5 separate regions of the Homo sapiens genome follow, and all the other regions are linked to region 1. Evidence: promoter capture Hi-C in 16 types of primary human blood cells and fetal thymus (Javierre and others, 2016). All regions are on one chromosome and are shown on one strand. The core of a region is centred on a gene start or on the middle of the fragment in contact, and the rest is flanking DNA. Distances in the headings are between cores, read along the strand shown. Region 1 holds the start of ATAD2B (ATPase family AAA domain containing 2B). Region 2 overlaps ITSN2 (intersectin 2). Region 3 overlaps ITSN2 (intersectin 2). Region 4 overlaps ITSN2 (intersectin 2). Region 5 overlaps ITSN2 (intersectin 2).

Region 1 (3,504 bases), core at 442-2,941:
CGCGATCTTGTAGACCCCTAGAACATAAAATATTGCTTTCCCCCAATAAGAACCACAAAATGGTGTGGAATTAAAGGAGCATTTTAAATGAACAGCTTTTTCCAGCCAAATTACTTAGCAAGTCAACCTCTTTTAGACAGAAGCAATACACTCTTCTCTGAATTCAGAAACAATCTCATAGTAAAACAAACGTGTCAATTCCTTTAAAACAATAAATATCTGTGCTTAGCTTTATAATGTAGGTAATAAAATTTCAAGATCTTTCAATCAGTTTTTTAATTCAATCACCAGCGTCTTTAAATGTCATTTTTGCAACTGCATGACTATGGTGTTCATTCACCTTTTGTAATATAGTCCCATAACAAAAATGTAGACACCCAAGAAACCACACAGTTTTGGCATGATGGTGCTGACTATCCGAAACATTCCACTTGTTTCTTTCGACGTGCTCCTTCTGTGACCTGAAAGCTCTGGTTCCTACTAGCACCTTGGTGAGCTAGCTGGCTGGTTCCCCAGCTATAATATCATGTTTGATCTCTCCTGCCTGGAGAGGCGATAGCGTTGATTTTGTTTTTAAAGTTGGTGTCAGAGCAGCTACAAACTTTTTTCAGCATCCCTGCCTGGCTGCCAACTGGAGCTCTCTGTTCACTTCCTCACCAACTTGAACCACCCCCAAACTGAGAGTAAGCTGGAGTTAGACAGCGGCAGGAACTGACACACTTTCAAGAAGGGTTTGACACCGCAGAAAACTTTCACTTCTCCAACCCTTCCACCCAGGGGCTCTGGCCCTTCGCTCTTGCTTCCCCGCTAGAATTCCCCTCTGGGGCAGGACAAGGACACGGACAGCAGATCGTTCGAATGACGCCGAAAGGGACCCCCAAAGCCCTCTCCCCTGGACTCAAGGGCTGTTCTTCACACAAAAGAGCCGGGCCAGCTTGAAAAGCAAAGGGGCCAGCGTCGCGGCCCTTCTCTGGGTGCCACCCTCCACCGCGCCCGCAGACCCTGTCTCCAGCCGCCCGAGCGGTCTCCACTGTAGGCTTCCTACCCCCAACCCGGCCAGACAAAGCCCCGGCAGCAGGGCCGGCACTTCCGAGCCTCCGGACTCGGGACGCCGCGCTCTTACCCTGGCCTCATCCAGAGTGACGCCGGCGCCACCGCTTCCCCCGGCTTTGGCGGCGGGGCAGCTGGCGGCGCGGGTCTTGGAGGAGCGGGTCCGAGAGGAGATGAAATGGCTGCTGCCTCCGGTCGCCCCAGGCTCTGCTCCGGCCCCAGGCCCAGGCCCGGGACCAGGAGACTTGGACCCGAGAAGGCGGAGAGAGCTCTTCCGGGTGTTCACCATGGTCCAGCCAGGGGGACGGAGTCCACGCCGCGCCCGGGAGAGCCGAGCAAGGCCGGCCCGCCGGCCGGTCAGTCAGGGCCAGCGGAGCCGAGCCGGGCAATGAGAGACGAGCCGGCCCGGAGCGTGCGGAGCGCAGACGAGCACAAGAGAGAGCCGGGCAGAGGAAGGGAAGTCGGCGTGAGCAGGCGGCGTGCGGGAAGCGGGGGCGGTGCTGCAGACCGGCAGCACAGACACTCCGCCGGCTTCGCCCTCCTCAGCGGGAGCCGAGCGGAGCCGCCATTTCTACCCCTTTCTCTCCCGTTCTCGCTCTCGAGCTCCGTGCGTCAAGGCTCCAGCGCCGCAGGGCCAACGAGACCGCTTCCGGCCGCAGCCACGGCGGGGCGCTGCGAAGCCGGCCAGCCCTTCCCGGCTGCTCGCTCCTCTCCCTGCCGCCTCCAGCTGCCCCGCCCCCGGCGCGGCGTCAGCGCTCGGCGGCCGGGGAGCGACGCTCTAGGCTGTCAGCTCGGTGGTTTCCAGCTCTCCCCGACCGCAGGGCTGGGGCGACCAGAAAAGCCAGACTAATCAGGACGAGTTCGGGCGTGGAATTGGGCCTGAAGCCCTCATGCCCAGCCAGGCCTGAATGCCCCAGACCCCACCGTCACCCCCGTGGCCTGGATGGAGCAGGGGACGGCCGGCGAAGGCGCGGGGTGGAAGGGGAGCGGCGACGAAGGCGCGAGGAGCTGACTGGGAATCCCCAAGCTACCCGAGGCAAGACACTGAACTTGAGTCGCACTTTTCATGCCTGTAGAAATGAGAATGACAGCTGTGATAAAAAAAAAATTCATCTGGGCGGTATCTGGAACTTGGTAAGCTTAAGAAGAGAAGGGGGGGGGGAAACACCATGCTAGAACTCTGCGTTTTTAAACAAAGCGAGGCAGGGTCGTTTTCTATCCCCTTAGCCAGATCTAAGGCGGAGCCAAAGAATGAGTACCCTGTAAGAGCCGCCTCTATCGCCGCCCCCTGCCCCCGGCCCGCTGAAGAATTAAGAATACAAAAAGCTGAACCCACAGATAAAGCATTTGCAATTTAACTTCCAAAGAAAAAAAAATTAAGCCACACAATTCATATGAAAAGCTCTGCTGTAGGCCGGGTGCGGTGGCTCAAGCCTGTAATCCCAGTACTTTGGGAGGCCGGGGTGGGTGGATCACCTGAGGTCAAGAGTTCTAGATCAGCCTTACCAACATGGTGAAACCCTGTCTCCACTAAAAATACAAAAAATCGATGGGTGTTGTGGTGGGCACCTGTAATCCCAGCTGCTCGGGAAGCTGAGGCATGAGAACCACTTGAACCCAGAAGATGGAGGTTGCAGTGAGCCGAAATCACGCCACTGCACTCCAGCCTGGATGACAGAGCCAGACCCTGTCTCAGAAAAAAAAAAAAGAAGAAAGAGAGAGAGAAAGGAAGAAAGAAAGGAAAGAAAGAAAGAAAAAGAAAGAAAGAAAAGCTCTGCTGTAAAGTAGGAATTAGGTTCATTTCAAAAATTCACAGTACAGGCCGGGCTTACGCCTGTAATCCCAGCACTTTGGGAGGCCAAGGCGGGCGGATCACTTGAGGTCAGGAGTTCGAGACCAACCTGGCCAACATGGTGAAACCCCCTCTCTACTAAAAATACAAAAAATTAGCCAGGTGTCGTGGTGCATGCCTGTAATCCCAGCTACTTGAGAGGCTGAGGCAGGAGAATCGCTTGAACCCGGGAGGCAGAGATTGCAGTAAGCCAAGATCGTGCCACTGCACTCCAGCCTGGGTGACAGAATGAGACTCCATCTCAAAAAAAAAAAAATAAAATTCACAGTACATTAGACATAGCCTACTGTTTATTGGGCAGGAGTTTATTAAACTGTTTATTAAACTAAGAAAAATTGAAAACTCAGGAAAAGTCCTGAAAATGACCAAATGGCATCAAACTTAGAGCATTCTGGCCATCTAAGCTCCCAATCATTCCAAAAAACTGTACAACACTGGAAATGACAATTTTTTTTGTTTGGGAACCAGTATGGATTCCAGAATAGATAAATCCTTCTGACACAATTTGCATACCACATCCTCTCCTGGACACTTCACCTGCCACTTAGAGTTGATGTCTTAATGGGTGGGATTCCTCATAATGGAACCATACCTGGATTTTC
Region 2 (3,504 bases), core at 286-2,785, 410 kb after region 1:
TTACGCTCCTTGGAGTTCTAAAAGTTTCAAGGAGGTACAACAGAGGTGGGGTAGGGAGGAAAGAGGGAAGGTTGGAAGGGATACCAACTTCAGTGAGACTAGCTCTGTTTTTGTGTTTTATATATTGAAGCTTCTCTGTAAGATTTCACCTGATTTTTTCTTAAAGATAAATGACAACACACTGAATTCCATCCTCTTCATTTCAGAAACAACTAAATAGGTCAGGTGTGGTTCACGGCTCATGCCTGCAATCCCAGCACTTTGGGAGGCCACAGTGGGAGGATCACTTGAGCCTAGGAGCTCAAGACTAGCCTGGGCAACACAGGGAGACTCTTTCTCTACAAAAAATTAAAAACTTAGTTGGGCATGGTGGCACACACCTGTAGTTCTAGCTACTCAGGAAGTAGCTACTCAGGAGGTGAAAGGATCATTTGAGCCCGGGAGTTCAAGGTTACAATGAGCTATGATTATGTCACTGCACTCCAGCTTGGGTAACAAAGTGAGACAGTGTCTCTAAAATAAAATAATGTAAAAAAAAACAAGTAGAAGCCAAAGAGATTAAGTAACCAAGATCACACAATTTAAGACAAACAGTAAGTCATGCTATTGATTTTGGACATTGCTGTGCAAGTCATGGAGAGCCAGTATTTAAAACACAGTATAAAGTTGAATGTACTTGGCAGGGCGCGGTGGCTCACGCCTGAAATCCCAACACTTTGGGAGGCCGAGGCGGCAGATTACCTGAGGTCAGGAGTTTGAGACCACCCTGGCCAAGATGGTATAACCCCATCTCTACTAAAAATACAAAAATTAGCCAGGCATGGTGGCACACGCTTGTAGTCCCAGCTACTTGGGAGGCTGAGGCAGGAGAATCGCTTGAACCCGGGGGGTGGAGGTTACAGCGAACTGAGATCACGTCACTGCACTCCAGCCTGGGTGACAGAACGAAACTCCATCTCAAAAAAAAAAAAAAGTTGAATGTACTTGTTTACCCAGCATCAAGATGAAGAAAGTCAAAATCGTCGCAGTCCCCAAAGTCCCCTCATGCTCCCTTCCAGCCTCTGTCCCACCAGGGAAACATGATCCCAACTTCTAATACCATAGATTCGTTCTGTCTGCTAAGGTACTTCATATGAATGGAATTATGTAGCCCGTTGTGTCTCTTTTGTTCAGCATTTGGTCTATAAGTTGTGTCATTATAGATCCTGTGTTCTCAAAAAAGGAAAAAAAACACACACACACACACACATATAGTATATGTTCTAGTTAGAGACCCACATTTGGTAGTTATCAGAGATTGGGAATACTTGTAATGTCAGTGAATTACATTATCCAGGGAAAGTACATATAAAAAAATATATAAGAAGACTGGTCTTTTAAGAGGAGAGGAAGACAACTCTGACAAGCAGTATAGGAACAAACTGGATTTTGAGTCTTGAGACAAACACACCAATTATGAAGTGACTGGCATAGTCCAGGTGGTGAGAACTTGAACTTGAGCAATGGAGAAGAGGTATTTCAAAGGTAGAATAGACAGGATTTTCTGGTCAGCTAAATGTGGAAGATGAAAGAGGAGCATCACAGATGGGTTTCTATCTTGGGTGACTGTAGAGCAGTAATATTAACCAAGATAGAAGCTCTAAGAAAGTAGGAATCTAGATATTAGATTTGAGGGATGAACAACAAAATGTTCAATTTTGAGCACACCTAATCTGATCCACCTACAAAGACATCTAGATGGAAGTGTCCAAGATATAGTGAACACTCTATCTAGAAACCCAGATTTCGTAGTCATTAGGGATTGGGAGTAGTTGTAATCATGTGGGTGAATGACATTATCCAGGGAAATCATGTATAAGAAAAAAGAGACAAGAATAGTCAGAAACAGAGGTTCAGAAACACGAGAAATCGGGATACAGAGTTAAGAGTTTCAAGGAGAAAATGGTATTGTCACAGAAGTTAAGACTCAGCTATTAGTGTTGGCAATCTGGAGTGAGTGTAGTTCTAGCACAGTGATGGCTATAGAAGCCAAATTGAAGTAGATTAGGCAATAAATGTTTAAAATAAGGGGAAGAGCCTGGGTGTGGTGCCTCACACCTATAATCCAAGCACTTTGGGAGGCTGAGGCAGGCAGATGACATGAAGTCAGGAGACCGGTCTCACGGTCAACATGGTGAAACCCTGTCTCTATTAAAAATACAAAAATGCGCCGGGCATGGTGGTGAGTGCCTGTGAGGCGGGAGAATAGCTTGAACCTGGGAGGTGGAGGTTGCAGGGAGCCAAGATCGCACCACTGCCCTCCAGCCTGGGCGACAGAGCAAGATTTCCTCTCAAAAAATACATAGGAAAAAAGGTAAGATTTAAGAAAGGGAGGCAGAGTTATTATAAGGCTTTAGTTTTTAGGTGACAGAACAAAACTATTTTTAGACAAAAAAAAGAAATAAAGATTTAATTTACAAAAAGGAGATGGGAGAGAAGTTACCTAATGGAAGTTAGGGCCAGAAAAAGAAGTAGTAGACAGCTCTAGAACACGAAGTTAGAACCTGGGACAGATATTTCTGTCTCTAAGAATGAAGTTCAGGAAGGGGAGTAAGAATGAACAAAGGCATACATAAGTTTAGAAGCAGAAGAAAGAGCGATTGAGAAGGTACAGATTTTCTTCTACCATTTTTTTTTCTTTTAGAGATATATAATCTTTTTGAGACAGTCAATGTTGCCAAGGCTGGAGTGCAGTGGCATAATCACGGTGCACTGCAGCCTCGACCTCCCAGGCTCACGTGATTCTCCCACCTCAGCTTTTCAAGCGGCTGGGACCACAAGAGCACGCTGCCAAGCCCGGCTAATTTTTAAAATTTCTTATAGAGGTGCAGTCTCCCTATGTTGCCCAGGCTGGTCTCAAACTCCTAAGCTCAAGTGATCCTCCCACCTCAGCCTCCCAATGCAAGCTTTCTTTGTCTCTCTTCTTTAGGCTCAGACAACAGTCCAAAGGGCAGAGCTAAGGACAGACTCCTTGATCTCGTAGGCCCTCAAGTGTCTAAGCACAAATTTCTCTCCTCTTCAAGCCATAAAAGAGAAAGACACATGCAAATCAGTTCCCATGACTCAACCAGATATGTGCATTTCAGCTTGCATTCAAATCAGCTTAGGCCCTACACATCAAAACATTTGTTAAAATGAATGAATGTGAAGGAAAACATTCTAGGCAGAGGTTACTCTGCAAAAGCAGAGTAACTAGTGTGGTCTGGAAAAATAGAAGATTACTTACTCACATGAAATAGTGAAGGGCTGGCCTGGCACAGTGGCTCATGCCTGTAATCCTAGCACTTGGGAGGCCGAGGCAAGTGGATCACCTTGAGCTCAGGAGTTCAAGACCAGCCTGGGCAACACAGTGAAACCCCTCTCTACCAAAAATAAAAAAAATCAGCCAGGCGAGGTGGCATGTGCCTGTGGTCCCAAGTACTCAGGAGGCTGAGGAGGGAGGACTGCTTGAGTCTGTAAGATGGG
Region 3 (3,504 bases), core at 271-2,770, 360 kb after region 1:
TGAAATTCTTGTATAGTTGAAATTATAAAATAAATTATGAAAATGTAATACATATAATAGCTTTAGCTATTTATTCTATTAAATCAAAATAATGAAGGTAAGAAGGCAGTTACCTAAAAATAAATAGTATCAAAAATAAATACCTTTAGTTGATTGTTAAAAGAATCCATTTCTGACAGCTTAGATGCAGTTTCTTTTTCAAGAGCATCTAACTGTTCTTTAAGTCTTTGGCATAATTCTTCCTTTTCTAATGATTTTTTATGAAGTAAACTGACCCCTGAATCTGAAAAACAAACATCAGACAGTTTACATTTTGCAGAAGTTCGTATGTCATTACCAGCATGTCATTTACTGTTTGGTCAGATTGATGTAACTAGACCAATACGAAGGATGTATACACAATGCAGACCAGTACAAGAGAAAACATTCAGTTGTTATTTCCACTTCCCAGATTATATGCTGGAAAGAGCATCAGAGGAAATGGTTGTAAGCCTTGGTTCTGCATTCAAAAGGACTAGGACCTGAAGTGAAATTCTACTTTAGGAAAGATGCTTCACCAATCGAATCCTCAGGCTTTTCATCTATACAATGAGCATCATGCTACATTAAATGAGGTGATGGATATAAAGCCATTGTACACTCTGGTCCACAGTTAATACTCAATTAATAGAAACTATAGTTAAAGTAGCTTTCCATTTATTCTTAGTGCTCCCAAGAACAGGGAAATATTCACAGCAAAGATTCAGTAAGTATTACTAACTGGATTATTTAGTAACATTATTTTAGGAGGTAAGAACAGAAGGTTTCATTTTATATTATCTTTTTTTACATATTCATGCAGGGATGAAGAAACCAGATGGAAATATATAATGCAGAATACATTACAATAAATTAAAATAGCAATATTATCTGTTTAAATGTCTGTTTTTAACTTTATCATATTTTTGAAGTACAGAAGTACAAAATTTAAATAAAATGAAACATACAGAGTAAAAAATTAAAACACCTCCATTTCAACTGCAAGTTCATCCCCCTTTTAGGCATTTACATTTAGATGTGTACATACTCAACTTTTATTTCCATGGGTTTTAACAGAATCATATTGTCTACATTGCTATGCAACTTGTTTTCAATTTAGTAAGATATCTTATCAATCAGGACAAACAGATCTAGTTCATTCTTTTAAATTGCTCCATAGTAGTTTACATTATGGCTACTGCATAATTTATATAACTACCTTTCTGACTGGTATGGGTAGATGTTGGTCTGAACCCACTGATCAACATCTACCCATTTTCCCCTCCCTCTAACCCCTGGTAACCACTCTTCTACTCTCAGTTTCTGTACAGGAGTTCAACTTTTTTAGATTTTATATGAAACTGAGGTCATGCAGTATTTGTCTTTCTGTAACTGACTTACTGCATTTAGCATAAGGGAGCGCAAATATCTCTTTGAGACAGTAATTTTGTTTCCTTTGAATATATATTCAGAAGTGAGATTGCTGGATCATACAAGAGTTCTATCTTATTTTTTTTAGAAACCTTCATACTGTTTTCCTTAACAACTATACCAATTTACATTCCTCCAACAGTGTACATGGGTTCCCTTGTTCCCACATGCTCACTACCACTCGTTATCTCTGATCTTTTTGATAACAGCCATCCTACCAGGTGTGAGGTGATATTATATTTCAATGTGGTTTAGATTTGCATTTCCCTGATGATTAATAATGTTGAGTCCCTTTTTAAATATCTCTTTACCATTTTTAGGTCTTCTTTGGAGAAATGTCCACTCAGGTCCTTTGCCCATTTTGAAATTGGGTTGTTTTTTGGTATTGAGTTATATATATTCCTTGTATTTTGGATATAAACCACTTATCAGATACATGGCTCACAAGTATTTTCTCCCATTCCACAGACTGCCTTTTCATCTTGATTGTTTCCTTTACTGTGCAGAAACTTTTTAGTTTGATGAAGTCCCACTTGTTTATTTTTGTTTCCTGAGCTTTTGGTGTAATATCCAAAAAATCACTGCCAAGGCCAATGTCAAAGAGCTTTTGTCAATGTTTTCTTCTAGGAGTTTTACGGTTTCATGTCTTATGTTTAATCCATTTTGAGCTGATTTTTGAGTATGGTATAAGGCTCCAATTTCATTCTTTTGCAGGTGGATATCCAGTTTTCCCAATACCATTTATCGAAGAGGCTACCTTTTCCCATTGTGTCTTCTTGATACCCTTGTCAAAAATTAGTTGACCATATACACTTGGGTTTATTTTTGGGCTCTCTATTCTATTTCATAAGTCTGTATGTCTTGTAATTGACAAAAAATTGTATATATATTGTATGCATGTTGTTTTAAAATATGTATACATTGTAAATTGGCTAAGGAGCTAATTAACATATGCATAATTTAGCTAATTAACATAATGTGTATGTTAATTAGCTAGGCTCTCTATTCTGTAAATCTATGTCTTTTGTAATCAACAAATAAAAACTTGTATTTATAGTACGCATGTTGTTTTGAAATATGTATACATTGTAAAATGGCTAAATTCAGCTAATTAACCTCACATACTTACCTCACATACTTACCATTTTTGTGGTGAAAACACTTAAAATCTATTCTCTTAGCAACTTTAAAGAATACAATGCACTATTATTAACTATAGTCACCAGGTTGTACAATAGATTTCTTGAACTTATTCCTCCTATCTAACTGAAATGTTGATTTCCTTTGAGCAAACTCTCAGTGATCCCCTTTTCTCTCACCAGCCCTGGTAGCCACCATTTTATTCTCTACTTTTATGGATAAATATATACACTCCACAAATAAATGAAATCATACCGTATTTGTCTTTCTGCGCTTGGCTTACTTCACTTAATGTAACATCTTGCAGGTTCATGTTGTCCCTATGTCTGTTTTTATGCCAGTACCACACTGTTCTGATTACTATAGCTTCATAATATTTGCAAACAGGCAGTGTGATGCTTCCAACTTTGTTTTTCTTTCTCAAGATTGCTTTGGCTATTTGAAGTCTTCTGTGATTCCATATACGTTTTAAAATTGCTTTTTCTATTTCTGTGAAAATGCTATTTGAATTCTGATATTGTGTTGAATCTGTATATTGCTTTGGGTAGTACAGATAATTTTTAAAATATTAATTCTTCCAATACATGAACATGGAGTATCTTTCCATTTATTTATGTCTTTTTCAATTTCTCCCATCAATTAGTTTTCAGTTACAGATCTTTCCCCTCCTTGGTCAAATTTATTCCTAAGTATTTAATTATTTTTGATGCTGTCATGAATAATATTGTTTACTTGATCTCTTTTTTGAATAGTTATTGGTGTAAAAAATGCAACTGATTTTTGTATGCTGATTTTGTGTCCTACAACTTTACTCAATTCATGTATTAGTTCTAAGTTTTATTGCAGTCTTTAGGGTTTTCAACATATAGGATCATGTCATCTGCAGACAGGGATAATTTTACTACTACTTTTACA
Region 4 (3,504 bases), core at 383-2,882, 340 kb after region 1:
TCAATTTTAATCTCTTTCACATCTGTCATTTATAGTTGTAATTAATTTTTAGTTGTTAATTTACATACTGAGTTAAACTGAACATTTTATATAAATTCTCACAGGCCTAGCAAAACTACTTATTACTTCTTCTTAACTACTTATTAATTAATGTTAGCAAAATAGCATTAACAGATTAGAAGGCTAGAAAAACATTTCAGCTTGTCATCGAAAATGTGGCCAAGACTCAGTGGAATTTCTAATCCTTTTCACTTTCAATGAAACCTCCGGTAACACCCTCATCCATTAAGTTGATCAGACCTTGCCTCCTATCTTACCGGGAATTTGGAAGTCCTGGGACCTGACTTCATCTTCTACTTCAGCAAAATTTACTTTAATCCCTCCCACCCTTTCTTCCTGCCCTCTAATGACAAAGGATAAGGTATTCAATCCTTCTACCACTCTCTTCCAGGGCTCCAGATTCCAGCCTTCTAGCCTTTTCAAGAATCTTCCTCATCTCCATCTATTAGTCAGAACAGGGAGGTTTGACAAGGAACATGAAGTGCCTTCCTGATGCTGTACGTTCTACACACTGATCTGAGGGGGGCTTCACAGATACACAGATGTGTACACATTCTTTGAGCTGTATACTTATGGTTGTACACTTTGCTATATATAAATTATACTTTAATAAGAAAAAACAATCTTTATCAGTTATTTATACTCTTTCCATTATCATTAACCTGTTTCCTCTCTGCAGATCCTTTCTACTATTATTTAAACTTGCTCAAGCTTCAGCCAACTTTAAAAAAAAAAAAAACTTCCCTCAACCCACATTTCTCATTATTTACTACCTTCTCTCCTTCTCCCTTTCAAAGCCAAGCTCATTCAAAGAGTTTTATATATTCACTGTCTCCTCTTCCTCTCTTCCAATTTATTCCAACTCACTGAAATCTGGCTTCTCGCTCTACTAGTCCACTTAACTGATACTGCTGTCCTCAAGTTAACAACACCTGTGCTATTGCTAATCTAATAATTTTTTTAGTCCTTGTTTTATTTCACTTGCAGATCACTCTTCTCAAAGTTCCCTAACATTAAACTCTCCTGTTTTTTTTTTTTTCCTACTACTAGTCACTCCTTTTAAGGCTCCACTTCCTCTAATAATTCCTTCAGTGTCCATGTTTCTCAGGAACTGCATCCTCAATCCTCTTCTCTCTCACGTTACTACTCCCCTGGATGAGCTCCATTACTCTCATGTCTTCCAACACCATCACATCACACTGGCGACATCCAGATTTACATCCTCAGCCCAGACCGCTGCCTGACATCTCTCTAGGTACTCTGGAGATCCAACTACTACTGCCTGGACATCTGAAACTCATACAAAACTGAACTCATAATTCTACTTATATATTCCCCCTCTGATTTTCCCTCTTAGGAAATGACACCATCATTAACCAATTTGTTCAAATCAGGCAACTCATGACTGACAGTAGTAACTCATGACTAATACTTCATGTTAATGATTCAGCAGAGTACACAAGCACCCAAGACACACAGCTAACTTTATGTTTCTGTTGTCACTGCCACCAGAATGGCTCTCTGACCATGGGAGAGGTCTGTGCTAAAGCTGGTAGCAGTCTACAACCTTTTCCTTACCTTCCTTCCTCTACTGCTTTAGGTTGTCACGCTTTTTCATTAGCCTACAAGCGTGTTAAGAGCAGAGATAATGTCTTATTCACTAAATCCCTAGTCTAACATAGTCAGCCCTCAAAAAATATTTGTTGAAATAAATAAAAAATATAACCAAAAATATAAGTAAACTCTTGACCAAACACGCCCAGAGATTGGTTGTATCTCTTCATCCAGACACCATCACCAACAAGGAGAGGAGGAATGGTAGGAAGAGCAGACAGTGGACTTGGGCTGGTTGTAGAACAAACCTCTCCCCCTGCTCGGGCACAGCTCCGGTACTACTAATAGCGGCAATGGCAAGAGCAGGAATGTGTGTTTAGGGTTTATCTTGGGTGCTAGCGTTTTGGTAAATTTTTTTCCCTAGTATCATTAAACATTTGCCACCTAACTGATAAATCACACTAACTGGTGACAGTGCAGGGGGAGCGGGGGAAAGAGGCACTGGCTAGATACTCTGGCTAGATACTCTGGTTAACATTAGTTTAACAAGAAGAAAACAGAAGCAGAGACTAAAATCCAAGTTTGTGTGCTTCTAAAGCCTGTACTCTTTCCATTATGTCCTACTGGCTCTATCAAACACTACTCCTGGGATCTTCTCTTATTCATGTATTTTATATGGATTGTGATAACACAATAAAGACTTTCGTTCCAAGGAACAAATTGCCTGTATCCAGTTAGGGCTGTGGAATCTAACTCCTTCAATTCTTTTAACAGTTGCTGTATGGCATAGCAGAAACAACGCTGGATTTGGAAATAAAAAAACACATAACTGCATCCCATTCTGGCACTGCAATGCTGACAGTTACAACTTGTGTGAGTTTAAGCTTCCTTGGCTAGAACTTAGTTAGTAATAATAACTGTCCTATGCAGCTCTGAAGTATGTTGTAAAGTCCAAATGAGGTAATGTTTAAGAAACATTTTACAAAGGTAAATATATGAAATTAATGGTCAACATTACTACAGAAACTAATATATTACAATGTATTTAGGTTATTCATGATTAAAAAAAAAATTCATTTCCTACCTGAATTATATCTCCAGAATTAAAACTCATCTCATCATGGTTCCTTGCTTCAAAGGGGTATAATGCTCTATAATTCACCAAAACACTAGCTGTCTCACCTAAAGAGAAGACAATTGTCATTATTTGCAACTTACATGTATACATCTTTGCTATGACTCAATAAAGAGCTCTAAAACCTAAAAGAAAAAATCAAGCACCAAATACTACAATGAAAATCCACTTGATACAGACTTGCTAGGATTTCAGTATCTTGACTAGTCATCTAATAAAAAAGCAAACAAGGATGCTCATCTTAAGTAAGGTAGGAGGCAGCAAAACAAAGAGATGACTTGCGGGATGAAGCACACACATGGGTAGAAAGGAAAGTGCAGGAGTGGGGGCCAGGCTGAGCTGTACAAAGTGGAAGGAGACCAAGCAAAGAGAGGCTTGGTTTGATCTGTGGAGGTCTGAATATAACAGGGAAGTAAAGGACAAAAAGGGGGGTCTCAAAAGATAAGAATAGCAAGTTAACAGGGATGGCTGAAGAAAAATCTATACATCTATCAGAATGGTTCTAAAAGGAAAACAGTGGAAGAGTACACAAATATACTGAATTTGATAAGAATAAAATTGTTTACTTTGTTCATCTTTAGAATGTTTTAACTTATAAAATTTCAACAAACTGTATCATTAATAATGATTCAAAGGGTTCATGTATCTAAAAGAGATACAATACTACTAAAAGTATTGTGGAAATGGACTGAGGTGTATCAAAATTTTACTGTTGTTTCATTAAAATAAATAGCTTAGTTATAGTGGTTGAATAA
Region 5 (3,504 bases), core at 627-3,126, 310 kb after region 1:
TCCTGGTAGGTCCTTTTTGGTAGACAAGAAGAGTGGGCAAAGAAGAAAGATGAGAGATCATGGCTACTATCAGGTTGATGTTCCCAGAGGAATAATTAGTAGTGGGCTGGGCCACAAGACCCACCCCCACACTGTGGGAGGATGTGGAGACTGAGAGACAAGTTATGAATCATAGGTATGTCGCACCATAGTTGGGAAGCACTATTCCAAGTTACAGTGCAAGCAAGAATAAGAAGCAAACAAGAGATGCCTAAGAAAGGAGAGGGGAAAGATCTGGGCAGATTCCAGGAGGTAAAGGACAAAAGACAATCTGTGATGACGAACACAGAGAGTGCTTGTTCAGATTATGTCACAAGTCCCACAAAAGTCCTTGCCCATTTGGAGGGGAGCAGTGCCGGTGAACAATGCTATTCTCTGTGTGCCCACTTATGCGGCCAGAGTATCACATAATGGTTTCCAGTTATACTGTAGTTAAGCTCAGTGAAAAGATGAGATTTTTAACAGTAAATCTAGATGAATAAACTGCATTTTCTGAAGGCTGCCTTTTTATTGAAGTTTTATCAGGACACTAGAAAGTTACAAGATATTTTATGTTGTAAAAGAATAGCTTTTCATCCACTTGGCAAATATTTATTGAGTACCGGGTAGCATGCTTCCACCACAAAGATATTTGTTTTTACTTTTGGAAATTTAAATAATTACTGGACAAATTTCTAAATTCATGTCTTTTTGAGGCCTGTCAAGTTCTACTCCATTAGGAGCTATGTTGCTCCTGTAAGCACAAAAAGGAAAGAAGTTGAAATCATATTCTAATGTTGCAGACCATCAGAAAGCAAACTATTTGCCTATCAGAAAATAGTCATATTCTAGAATTTCCAAAAGCAACTATATTGACAAGTGCAACCAGATAAAGACAAATTTTATTGGTTTTATTTTTACTTTTGAATCTACTGTAAAAGGTCATAAGCCTAAGACAGCAATGACCTCCTAATGATAGACAAAAGCGCAGACCTGGCCCCAGAGAGCAGTTAGTTCAGGCTAAAATCTGCATTACCTTCTAACCTGCCAGACTTGTACCATGACTCAATTGAGGGAGTTAATGTGAGATGCAGGATATAGACTATTATAAAGAGATATGAAATAGTAGTTTCATCATGTTAGAACTTTCAATTCTAACAATAAAAATAACTATACCAATATGTGTATGATGATTTTCAAACCCTGATCAATCCTCCGAATAACTGATAACAGCTCTGACCCCTGCTCTATAAGTAAATAGATAATCTGAAGCTTAGTGGTGAAGAGACTTACCAGATAAATTAGAGCTACTACATATCTAAATCTAGGTAACTTGATTCAAGTCTTATACTTTCCAATGGCAGGCCATTTAAGATGATGCTTACACTGCAATTACTGGAGATTCCATGTATAAACCTACCAGGTCCTATGCTTGGTGAACTGAATTCTAAAGGCAAAAAAGGTTTAGGATAAATATTCTGAATGCCAATTAGCCCAAAGCAATGAAAAAGCAAACAAGGCCCTTACTCTAACTCTTTTTTATGTCTAAGTGATATAATTATTCCCTTACACACCCTTCTACTCTGTCACACACACAATTAGGACCTTGTATCTAATAGCCAGTTCCAAAGAGACTGTTCCATGCACTGTAGCACTTTGTATCAGTGCACTGATTACTACAGTTCTGTCCTTGGGCAATACGGGTTTCATATGCACATATATATTTTTTCTTAGTATTACTGAACAGCTTATTACACCATTAATCTCCCCCAATGGTATGTTCATATAACTCATGTTTTCCACTTGTTTATGACTACATACATAATTGGAGACTTTGCCCCAAATTGCTGAGTTTAGGACACACAAATTCTATAGCACTGGCTGACTCTGACTTCAGGTGGCTAATGGATGACCACCGGTGACACAGGGATCCCAGTGGCAGGTTCTTCGGTACCTTGGAATGTAACTTGACCAGCTTGGATTCATTTAAAGCAGTTAATTTTCTTTACCCTCCATCTTGCAATTAACTGATGACTGTTCTGCTTTTGTGGTTGGGAGTTAAGAGCAGCTCCCAGTTAATGGAAAGCAGCATGTGGGGGTGGCTAAGAGAATGAGTTCTGAAGTCAGATCTGGACTTGAGTTCCAACTCTACTACTTACTCAGACAACCCAAAGATTAGTTCATGACTTGGTACACAGCAAATATTTACTAAATGTTAGCTGTTATTTCTAGTATCTATTATGTGTCAGACATTAAACTTGTGCTTTACAAACCCCTTAAGCCTCATGTGCAATGTGGGTATTATTATTCTCACTTATACAGACCAGGCTAAGGCTCGGAGGGGTGAGCTAGCTGAGACAGGAATCAAAGCAATCCTCCCACTATACTTCCCACTACACTCATTTATCGTTCTCTTTGAAAGAGTAAGTGATTTTTGCCTTTTGACAAGCTTAAAACATCTCTCTTAAGAATGTCCTTCATAATTTGTTGTTCTTTAAAGCAAAGTTTAAAAAGTGATTCTAAAACTGATTCTAAAAGTTTATACGGAGAGGCAAAAGACCCAGAATAGCCAACAAAAAAATTAAAGGAGAAGAATAAAACTGAAGAACTGACACTACCTGACCTCAAGACTTACTAGAAAGCTGCAGTAATCAAGCCAGTGTGATACTGGCCAAAGAATACACAAATAGATCAATGAAACAGAATAGAGCCCAGAAATAGACCCATATAAATAGAGTCAACTGACCTTTGACAAAGGAGCAAAGGCAATACAATGGGGCAAAGATACTCTTTTCAACAAATGATGCTGGAACAACTGGCCATCCAAATGCGAAAAAAAAAAAAGAAATTGTCTTTAAAATGAAATATAGACACAGGTCTCTACTGTTCGCAAAAATCAACTCAAAATGCATCACAAACCTAAATCTGAAACACAAAACTATAAAGCTCCCAGAAAATAGTGTAAGCGAAAATCTAGATAACCTTGGGTTTAGTGATGACTCTTTAGATATGATACCAAAGACACAATCCATGAAAGAAAGAGTTGATAAGCTGGACTTCATTAAATGTAAACACTTTCATTCTGCAAAAGATGTGGTCAAGAGAATGAGAAGACAAGGCACAGACTGAAAAAAAATTTGCAAAAGACGTATCTGATAAAGAACTATTTTTCAAAATATGGAAAGGACTCTTTTAACAGTTCAACAATAAGAAAACAAATAAAAAAATGGGCCAAAGACCTTAACAGATGCCTCATGGAAAAAGATATGCAGATGGCAAATAAGCATATAAAAAGATGCTTTGCATCATACGTTGTTGGGAAAATGCAAATTAAAACAAAAATGAGATACCACTACACACCTGTTAGAATGGCCAGAATCTGTAACACTGACACCACCAAATGCTGGCAAGGATGTGGAACAACAGGAACTTTCATTCATTGCTGGAGGGAATGCAAAATGGTACAGCCACTTTGGAAGACAGTTT

Evidence for each region. Contacts are between HindIII fragments. The CHiCAGO score rates a contact against its expected background, and 5 or more counts as called.
Region 2: a contact is called between a fragment that was not itself captured here and the fragment with the promoter of ATAD2B in region 1, in 1 of 17 cell types (erythroblasts). The highest score is 5.2, in erythroblasts.
Region 3: a contact is called between a fragment that was not itself captured here and the fragment with the promoter of ATAD2B in region 1, in 1 of 17 cell types (M2 macrophages). The highest score is 5.5, in M2 macrophages.
Region 4: a contact is called between a fragment that was not itself captured here and the fragment with the promoter of ATAD2B in region 1, in 1 of 17 cell types (M2 macrophages). The highest score is 6.3, in M2 macrophages.
Region 5: a fragment that was not itself captured here is called in contact with the fragment with the promoter of ATAD2B in region 1 in 1 of 17 cell types (naive B cells); the score reaches 5.3 in naive B cells.

Annotation. Positions count from the first base shown.
Region 1 is chr2:23,925,432-23,928,935 of GRCh38, forward strand. It overlaps ATAD2B (ATPase family AAA domain containing 2B), which reads right to left and starts at 1,692. Exons shown (of 28, transcript NM_017552.4): 1 at 1,124-1,692. The coding sequence starts at 1,339. It also overlaps a transcript of UBXN2A not described here. RefSeq lists enhancers at 359-608, 707-1,625, 819-868, 1,626-2,542, 2,129-2,218 and silencers at 1,349-1,428, 1,629-1,958. The HindIII fragment of the contact is 2,488 bases long and covers 1-2,187 here.
Region 2 is chr2:24,339,522-24,343,025 of GRCh38, forward strand. All of the region lies in intron 1 of ITSN2 (intersectin 2), which reads right to left. Among named protein-coding and RNA genes, the nearest start is that of ITSN2, 19 kb to the right of the region's middle. The HindIII fragment of the contact is 2,815 bases long and covers 129-2,943 here.
Region 3 is chr2:24,286,069-24,289,572 of GRCh38, forward strand. It overlaps ITSN2 (intersectin 2), which reads right to left. Exons shown (of 40, transcript NM_006277.3): 16 at 144-283. Among named protein-coding and RNA genes, the nearest start is that of ITSN2, 73 kb to the right of the region's middle. The HindIII fragment of the contact is 4,203 bases long and covers 1-3,504 here.
Region 4 is chr2:24,267,973-24,271,476 of GRCh38, forward strand. ITSN2 (intersectin 2) reads right to left here. Exons shown (of 40, transcript NM_006277.3): 20 at 2,699-2,796. Among named protein-coding and RNA genes, the nearest start is that of ITSN2, 91 kb to the right of the region's middle. The HindIII fragment of the contact is 1,727 bases long and covers 770-2,496 here.
Region 5 is chr2:24,231,429-24,234,932 of GRCh38, forward strand. All of the region lies in intron 29 of ITSN2 (intersectin 2), which reads right to left. Among named protein-coding and RNA genes, the nearest start is that of FAM228A, 58 kb to the left of the region's middle. The HindIII fragment of the contact is 1,177 bases long and covers 1,289-2,465 here.